Linked DNA regions of Homo sapiens: region 2 is linked to region 1. Evidence: promoter capture Hi-C in 16 types of primary human blood cells and fetal thymus (Javierre and others, 2016). All regions are on one chromosome and are shown on one strand. The core of a region is centred on a gene start or on the middle of the fragment in contact, and the rest is flanking DNA. Distances in the headings are between cores, read along the strand shown.

Evidence for each region. Contacts are between HindIII fragments. The CHiCAGO score rates a contact against its expected background, and 5 or more counts as called.
Region 2: a contact is called between a fragment that was not itself captured here and the fragment with the promoter of SV2A in region 1, in 1 of 17 cell types (monocytes). The highest score is 5.2, in monocytes.

Annotation. Positions count from the first base shown.
Region 1 is chr1:149,915,931-149,920,771 of GRCh38, forward strand. It overlaps SV2A (synaptic vesicle glycoprotein 2A), which reads right to left and starts at 1,914. Exons shown (of 13, transcript NM_014849.5): 1 at 1,809-1,914. RefSeq lists a silencer at 1,758-1,827. The HindIII fragment of the contact is 16,072 bases long and covers 1-4,841 here.
Region 2 is chr1:150,124,428-150,129,268 of GRCh38, forward strand. The region is part of intron 14 of VPS45 (vacuolar protein sorting 45 homolog); the gene reads left to right. Among named protein-coding and RNA genes, the nearest start is that of PLEKHO1, 23 kb to the right of the region's middle. The HindIII fragment of the contact is 1,872 bases long and covers 1,560-3,431 here.

The DNA of each region.
Region 1 (4,841 bases), core at 664-3,163:
CCTGGTAGAAGACGGTAAGCAATGCTATGTGGTTCAGAGAGAAGCACTGGCAAGCAGCGCCTTATCCCCTCAGGACAGATGTAAGCAGTGGACCACGGTGACCAGAAGCAGTGACCCCTATGTCACCTTTTCTTCATGGTTCAGGGCCCAACCATCCCCCATGAAAGAGCTGGAACTGCGGAATCCCCTCAGCGCATGGCAATTTGCTAGCTTTCCTCTCTTTCCTAACCAGGATCTCCCCTCCAGCCCTGAAGGAGGCAGGACCCACCAGGAGCCATACTCTATGTTTGTTGACCCTATTTCCCCCTGAGAGGGGCACGTAGGGCAGGGAAGCCTTCCACAACCACAGCAGGATATGAGGTCTCAACAGCCAGCTTCCTCAGGGCCAGCAAGCCCAGGAGGTCAGGAGAGAAAGAAAGAAGACAAATTCTTTGAGCTGGTGAGGAAGTGGTGCTATTTTTAGCCCCCAAAACAGCACAGGGTGGCTAAGCCTGGGGGAGTGAGACAAGACTTGGAGAGGTGGAGGTTAAAGGAGACAAGGTTCAGGGTTACAAGGTCCTAGGCTGGCTGACTTCACCTGACAGGAAAAAATGTGCCCAGGAGATTTTCTGCAGAGGGTGGAGACAGGCAGGGGACTCCAGAGCAAATGCTTTCTTTCAGAACAGCTCATCCAGCCCTGGGTCCAGAACCCCCCACCCTCCCAGTCAAAGCCCCTGACTTTGGGGTCCACCCAGATCCCCAGGCCTTCCTAGCTCAGGTGACAAGGTCATTAAAAAGCAATCACTTATCAAAACGTCCGCGGGGGCGGGGGTAGAATGTGGGAGGTGCGGGAGCACCCCTTCCCCATGACAGCCCGGTCATCGAACTTCAGCCCCCACCCAGGACCATCAAGACTGCGCCTCCCCTCCCCACATCCTACCAAGGTTAGGAAGATAGGAGCACCCACAGTTCTGAGGGATAAAAATGAGGGTGTCAGCTGAGAATGCACACTGAGGAATACGGAGAGGCAGAGAGGGGGACGCAGGGAGAGACCTCCGCATGCACAGACATAGAGACCGCCCCTATCAGCATTTGCAGCGACCCCCCCACACCCCATCTTGCCTCAGCTCCGGAATAAGGGAAAAGCCCCCAGAACTGACTAAATCCCTGCTCTGAGCACCTCCTCCACCCTTGGTCCTGCTGCTAGACAAGTGTCCACCTTCACTCAACATCCCTTCCCCCCACCCCGGAGCAACTGCCGCCAGCCCCCGCCATCCATGCCCCCAACACCTGGCGGCTCTACATCTCTGTCTCCCCAGTATTTCCATTCTTCACTCCCCTTCCCTCCATCCTTCACCTGCCCTTCTTCCCCTGCCCCCCACCCACCCAAGTCCAGGCGTGCACACTGAGGCAGCATCCATTCTCCAGCCCCAGCCAAGGTCATTTATCATTCATCCTGGGGGTGGGGGGACGTCAAGGTGAGGAGGGGATAGGAGTTTGAGGGAACCTCATCCCACCTCACAACCCCACCACCACGTTAATCTCCGAAGGGGATAGTGGGGACTTGGTTAAGGTAGAGAAAAACACCCCTCCTCCCCATTCACCAATATTATACATATGCGTGTGTGTGTGTGTGTCCTGAAGAGCACAACTGAAATAAATGTCCATCCCCAAACCACCACCAACCCACCAACCCCCCTCACCCCTAGAGAGGGGATCGTCACCCTCCCCATAAGCAAAGCATCGGAGGATAAAATGGCTGCAAGGCAAGGCAAAGATGCTTCTGCCAGGGGCGGGGAGGAGGTGAGCGACTGAGAAAGGGGTCTCACCTGGTCTAGGTTCCCCGGGTAAGGAGTCCCGGGCGAGGACGGGGGTCCCGGCCGCGGGCGGAGGCGGCAGCGGCGACTGCTCCCGGCACCAGGGAAGCGGCAATGCAGACCTGCCACCCCCCTTCCACCACTCCAGCCCCGCCTCCGCCCCCCCCTACCCCGCGCCACTGAGCATCGGGAGAGACCATTGGTGGGGAGAGGAGAAAAGAGGATGGGGAGGGAGTCAGGGCACGGGGAGAAATGATGAAAGGGCCGGAGGTTGTCACAAGAACAGCTGGAAATGGCACCCAGCCCTTCCCAGGCCCTTCCTAGTAAAAGATAGAAGGAACTAAAGAAAAAAACAGTGATGTTAGGAAGACAAGTGGGAAGACAGGGAGATGGGGAATGTGGCAGCCCCTTCCTTAGCACCCCAGTCTCAGTATGGCAGGACCCAATAATTTCAGGGGCTTTTGCTGCCTTCAAAACACCTCCCTTGCCTTCTCCACTGCTCTCAAACTCCTTTTTCACAACAGTCTCCCAAATCCAGAGTGCTCCTATTCCAAGTTTACCTGGACATTTTAGAGAAAGCAGAGATAACAAGGTGTGGTTTCTATCCTGAACTGCCAGAGTCAGAGACCCCTGGATTCCTTCCATCTCTTTCCTCACAAAACAGTCCAGGTTACTTATTTACAGTGGACACCTCCTCATCCTGTCCATTCAGTTGGTGGTAGCAGAAGTACTGGGGAAGTTGAGGGATTTTTACAGACCTGACCAACCGGACAGTTCCCCTTCCATTAATTTGCTCCAATGACTCAAAAAGGATCCTCTCAATACCCTTCTCCATTTTCTCTTACTCTCCTCTACCTCCCTCCCCTCCCCTCCACACACTTGTACTTCCCGGGCAGGAAGAAGTAAATTGTTTCAGCTTTTCCCTTCATCTTTCCTTTGCTCTTGCATCAATAACCTGGACTCAGAGATCCAAGACATGCCACTTGGTGACACTTGATGACCATCCCTGCCGAAGGAGTGAGAGGGAATATGGTGATTTGGGGAAATACATCCTGAATGTGTCTATGCCAGATAAGGTCAGGACCTTCCAGACAGCACTGACCTGGGCTTGGACCTGGGTTCTCACTGCTAACAAGCTGTCAACTCTTGGTCAAGTTCTCCACATCTGTGAACTTCAGGTTTCTCATCTGGAAAAGGGGGGCTTGGACTAGATACTGCATCAGGTCCCTCTCAGATCTAATAGCGTGTGATTCTGCCTTACTAAATGTGGAGGCTTCAGAATGCTGATATATATACATGGAGAAGGCTGACAGGCTATGTCCGAAGAGACCACACAGGTAACATTTGCCAGGTTGAATTTACCTCTGACAGGGACACGGGCCTGGGCTTTGCAGACTCCAAAGCTGGATCTTGGAAATAATCATTCATGCCAACAAAGTTCACAATCTTCTGAAATATAAAGCCATAATACATAAATATTAATTTATCATAAATATTTAACTGTCACTCAGACTGAAAACTCATATCTACATGTCTAGTACATTCTCTCCCTGAAGCCAAATCAGAATCATAATGTCAATGTATAAATGCACAATGACATTACTGGAGGATTTGTATCTTTAATGGCATCTGGCCATCTGCAATAAGCAGCCATGCCAATGGGTCCAGAAAACTCTTCTTGGCAACAATCTTCTACCCCCACCTCTTTGCTATTGGCAGCCTTGCCAGCACTCCTGGACTACTCTGAATGTGACGGCTTTCCAGGATGGTGCTTGGACTGGCCTCAGGGACTCTCCCTTTACTAGACTTTCATTGCTGACCCGTCTTCAGGTTAACACACATTCTTTTTCTTTTTTTTTTTTTTTTTGAGACAGAGTCTCACTCTGTCGCCCAGGCTGGAGTGCAGTGGCGCAATCTCAGCTCACTGTAACCTCCACCTCCGGTGTTCAAGTGATTCTCCTGCCTCAGCCTTCCCAGTAGCTGGGACTACAGGCACGAGCCACCACACCCAGTTAACTTTTTTTTTTTTTTTTGAGACAGAGTCTTGCTCCGTCGCCCAGGCTGGAGTGCAGTGGCACAATCTCGGCTCACTGCAAGCTCCGCCTCCCGGGTTCATGCCATTCTCCTGCCTCAGCCTCCCGAGTAGCTGGGACTACAGGTGCCCGCCACCACACCCGGCTAATTTTTTGTATTTTTAGGAGAGACGGGGTTTCACTGTGTTAGCCAGGATGGTCTCGATCTCCTGACCTTGTGATCCGCCCGCCTCAGCCTCCCAAAGTGCTGGGATTACAGGCGTGAGCCACTGCGCCTGGCTAACTTTTGTATTGTTAATGGAGACAGGGTTTCACCGTGTTGGCCAGGCTGCTCTCGAACTCCGGACCTCAAGTGATCCACTCACCTCTGCCTCCCAAAGTGCTGGGATTACAGGCGTGAGCCACCGCACCCAGCCAAATATGTTAACATTTTCAATTAGGTTATAGCCAAGTCCAGCAGGAGAGCATTTGGCCAGCAGGGAGCCATTTCTTCCCTTTAAGGTGACTTTGCCTACTCTCCACTGATACCTTATTTGCTAAAATAGAAATCTTGCATACTTTTAGAGTGAAAACTTATACCATCAGTCCTCCATATCCATGGGTTTGGCATCCATGGATTCAACCAACTGTGGATGGAAAATGTAGTTAGGCCTATGATGGTTGCATTTGTACTGAACATGTATAGACATTCTCCTCTTGACATTTATTTCCTAAACAATACAGTATAACAACTACTTGCATAGTATTTACACTGCATTAGGTGTCACAAGTAATCTAGAGATGATTTAAAACACACTGGAGGATGTGCCTAGGTTATATGCAAATGTGCCATTTTATATAAGAGATTTGAGCATTTGTGAATTTTGATTATCTGTGGAGGGTCCTGGAACCAATCCCTTGAGAATACACAAATGACTGTATATATTTTCAAGTTCTGAGGGAAGACCTCATCATTTTCCCCCAGGTGCCAGTGCCCTGTCCCACCAACCACTCCTTTGTAGTCCCCTTTGCT
Region 2 (4,841 bases), core at 1,246-3,745, 210 kb after region 1:
CAGCCTGGGTGAGAGACCAAGACTCCGTCTTGGAAAAAAAAAATGAATTATAAAAGTAAAAATCATTCATAATACCACAGCTCAGAGCTAATCACTGTTAATATGTTGGCTTTTTTTCTTTTTTCTTTTTTTTTTTTTGAGACAGAGTCTCGCCCTGTCACCCAGGCTGGAGTGCAGTGGCACAATCCCGCCTCACTCCAACCCCCCTACCTCCCGGATTTAAGTAATTCTCATGCCTCAGCCTCCCAAGTAGCTGGGACTACAAGCCTGCAGCATCACACCTGGCTAATTTTTTTTTTTTTTGTATTTTTAGTAGAGATGGGGTTTCACCATGTTGGCCAGGCTGGTTTTGAACTCCTGACCTCAAGTAATCCGCCTGCCTTGTCCTCCCAAAGTGCTGGGATTATAGGCATAAGCCACTGTGCCCAGCCCCTTCTAATATTTTTTTAACCTAAATGTTTTAGAATTTTGTTTATGTTTTGTTTTTAACATAAGATCTATAGAGTTTTTTTCTTTAATCATTTGAGAACATTTTCCCATGTTACTAAAAAGTCTTTAAAACAATCTTAATGGCTATATAATTTTATTTTTAAGGATGGGTCTTTATTTAACTATTACCATTGGACATTTAGGTTGTTTACATTTTTTTCACCAGCATATTCAGCTGCAAGTTTACTTTTATTTTTTATTTATTTATTTTTTTGCTTTTTTAAATTTTTAATTGACATGTAATAATTTTACACATTTATTAGGTACAGAGTAATATTTTGATACATGTATACAATGTATACTGATCAAATCAGGATATTTAGCATAACAGCACATCAAACATTTATCATTTCTTTGTATTGGGAACATTCAAAATCTTCTTTTTTCTGTATTGGATATGTATTTTTTATTTTTTTTACTTTTTTTATTTATTTTTTAATATATATATATTTTTATTATACTTTAAGTTCTAGGGTACATGTGCACAATGTGCAGGTTTGTTACATATGTATACATGTGCCATGTTGGTGTGCTGCACCCATTAACTCATCATTTAAAAAATGACGAGTTCATGTCCTTTGTAGGGACATGGATGAAACTGGAAACCATCATTCTGAGCAAACTATCGCAAGGACAAAAAACCAAACACCACATGTTCTCACTCATAGGTGGGAATTGAACAATGAGAACACTTGGACACAGGAAGGGGAACATCACACACTGGGGGGAGGGGGGAGGGATAGCATTAGGAGATATATTTTTTATTTTTTTTATATTTTTTAATCATTTTTGAGATGGAGTCTCCTCTGTTGCCCAGGCTAGAGTGCAGTGATGTGATCTCAGCTCACTGTAACCTCCACCACCCAGGTTCAAGGAATTCTCTGCCTCAGCCTCCCGAGTAGCTGGGATTATAGGCGCCTGCCACCACTCCCAGCTAATTTTTGTATTTTTAGTAGAGACGGGCTTTCACCATCTTGGCCAGACTGGTCTTGAACTCCTGACCTTGTGATCCACCCGTCTCAGACTCCCAAAGTGGTGGGATTATAGATATGAGCCACTGCCCCTGGCCAAGCTTACATTTTTAATATAAATAATGCTTCAATAAACATCTTACGTACTGATAAAACTTGGTCCCCATCTCGGTGGGGACAAAGGTTTAAGATAAACGTATAGTGAGGCAGTCTGAAATATTGCCAGTAGAAGGATAAATTAGTATAACTTTCCTAGAAAGCAATTTAGCATTATATATTCTAAGGTATGGGATTAATTTCATGGCTTTTGTTGTTGGGTTTTTGTTTTGTTTTGTTTTTTTGAGACAGAGCCTCACTCTGTCGCCCATGCTGGAGTGCAGTGGTGCCATCTCGGCTCACTGCAAGCTCCGCCTCCCAGGTTCACGCCATTGTCCTGCCTCAGCCTCCCAAGTAGCTGGGACTACAGGCATCTGCCACCATGCCTGGCTAATTTTTTTTTGTATTTTTAGTAGAAATGGGGTTTCACCATGTTAGCCAGGATGGTCTCAATCTCCTGACCTCGTGATCCGCCCTCCTCGGCCTCCCAAAGTGCTGGGATTACAGGCGTGAGCCACCACACCGGCCTGTTTTTTGATTTTTAAGAAGCTCTTGCTCAAGTGATGGAAATGTTCTATATCTTGATTGAGGAGTTGGTTATACAACTGGATATATTTGGCAAACTCATCAAAGAATATCCTTGATATCAGTGAATTTTATTGTCTATGAGTTATAGCTCAATAAAAAAAATTTATATGTAGCTGAGCAGAGGTGGCCCATGCCTGTAATCCCAGCACTTTGGGAGGCTCAATTGGGAGGATCATTTGAGGCCAGGGGTTCAAGAACAGCCTGGGCAACATAGTGAGACTCCATCTCCACAAAAAACGTTAAAATTAGCCAGGCATCATGGTACGCACCTGTAATCATAGCTACAGGTAAGACAAAGCACTGTAGTACCAAACTGACATTTTCTCCTTCAAATGTTCAGAAAGATAAAAAAGATAATTTAAAATGGAATAGTTTCTCACTGCATAATTCAATGTTATTTAATGCCATGCCCCAGAACCACCTGATGTCAACTGATGTTATGACTCACACACTTTGAGGAAAACTGGGCTATTACAATTCCTAAAGCAACGGGTATGATGATAATTTGGTAAAACACTTAACCAAATTTTAAAGACAGTACAACAAAATGTAAAATATCTCAGTACTTTTTTAAGTTGATTACATGCTGAAAGATAATATTTTGGATATATGGGTTAAATAAAATACACTACTAAAATTAATTTTACCTGTTTCATTTTACTTTTTTAATGTGGCCACGAGAACATTTGTGACTTGCACTGCTTTATCCATTTAATTTTGTTAATTCTCATAATGACTCAGTGAAGCAGATTTTTTTTTTTTTGAAACAGGGTCTCGCTCTGTTGCCCAGGCTGGAGTGCAGTGGCACACACACAGCTCACTGTGACATTGATCTGGGTTCAAGCAGTCCTACCACTTCAGCCTCACAAGTAGCTTGTGCTAACTTTTTATTTTTTTCTAGAGACAGGGTCTTGCTATGTTGTCCAGACTGGTCTCAAACTCCTGGGCTCAAACAAACCTCCCAACTTGGCCTCCCAAATTGCTGGGATTACTGGCATGAGCCACCACACCCAGCCAAGGTAGATATTTTTATAATTGTTATCAACTTCCTTTTTCAGATGAGGAAATCAAAGTAGAGAGAAGTTAAGTACCTTGTCCAAAGTCATAAAGCTAGTAAGTGGTAAACCTGGAATTGGGCACAGTCTGTTTCCAGTATGAGTACCTAAGCACTCAGTTGAAATAATATTTTGGAATATTTATCTAGCTATGATATTTTTAAATCCTTTGTTTATAAATGTCACCTATAAGATAGGCAAAATATGTTTTTATCAAATGGATAATATGTGAAGCTTTCAGACTACTAAGAAATATTGTAAACCAAAGCTGGGGAAAAAATAATACAGAACTGAGGGATCATTTACTTTTATTTTAAGAATTTTATCATTCAATGATGATTAAAAATGAGATTTAAGAGACAGTGTTGCTCTTTGAGTAAAAATGACTAACTTGGCCAGGCATGGTGACTCACACCTGTAATCCCACACTTTGGGAGGCCGGGGCGGGCAGATTGCTTGAGTTCAGGAGTTCAAGACCAGCCTGGGCAACATGGTGAGACCCTGTCTCTACCAAAAATACAAAAAAATAGCTGGGCGTGATGGTGCGTGCCTGTGGTCCCAGCTACTCGGGAGGCTAAGATGGGAGGATAGCTTGAGCCCAGGGGGCAGAGGTTGCAGTGAGTCAAGTTCGCGCCACTGCACTCCAGCCTGGGTAACAGAATGGGACCCTTGTCTTAAAAAAAAAAAGAAAATTAACTTGATTAATTAGTGGAAGCTTTTAGTTTCATAACTATCTGAAATGATGCCTAAGTGTTATAATAATTTAACTTTGACATGGAGTAAGTGAAATTAATACTTTTTGTAGTGAATACAGCTAAGGGCCTAAAAAATAGTTGGCATCTTGAATTTCTATACATAAGTTTGAGGCTGGTAGGGGGCTGATTCAATTTGTGTTATCAACAGGTACTTTATAGATTTCCACCTAAACAAGTAACACTAGAAACTTGGACCTTCTCCTGTAACCACCAGTAGGTTCAATCTCTGAATTATTTACAGAAAAATTAGGATACTATGACAGAATTTGCATTTCAAAGAGGCAGGAACCCAGAGGGGACTTCTCTTCACTACGGACGTTTCAGGATAAGTTTTGAAACTTTCCCAAAGAGATTTTCTTTCTTTTTTTTTTTCAGTGAGACAGAGTCTCGCTCTGTCGCCCAGGCTGGAGTGCAGTGGCACGATCTCGGCTCACTGCAACCTCCGCCTCCCGGGTTCAAGCGATTCTCCTGCCACAAAGTCCCAAGTAGCTAGGACTACAAGTGCGTGCCACCACGCCTGGCTAATTATTTTTGTATTTTTAGTAGAGATGGGGTTTCACCGTGTTAGCCAGGATGGTCTTGATCTCCTGATCTCGTGATCTGAGTGCTGGGATTACAGGCGTGAGCCACTGCATCCGGCAAAGAGATTTTCTTTGACAGCTTATTTTCCTCCAGTGACCAAAGGATTAGACATCATTGCAAGAGTTGTGATGGAGTGTGTCGCCTGTCACTGACAAGCATTTATTGAGTGCTGATTATGTGTAATGTTCTGTGCACGGTGCTAGAAAGATGAAGACATGTTCTGTATCTTTAAGGATCTCAATGTCTAATAGGAAAATAAACATATAAATGAACAACTCTAATAAGATGCCTTTTTAAAAGTTGAA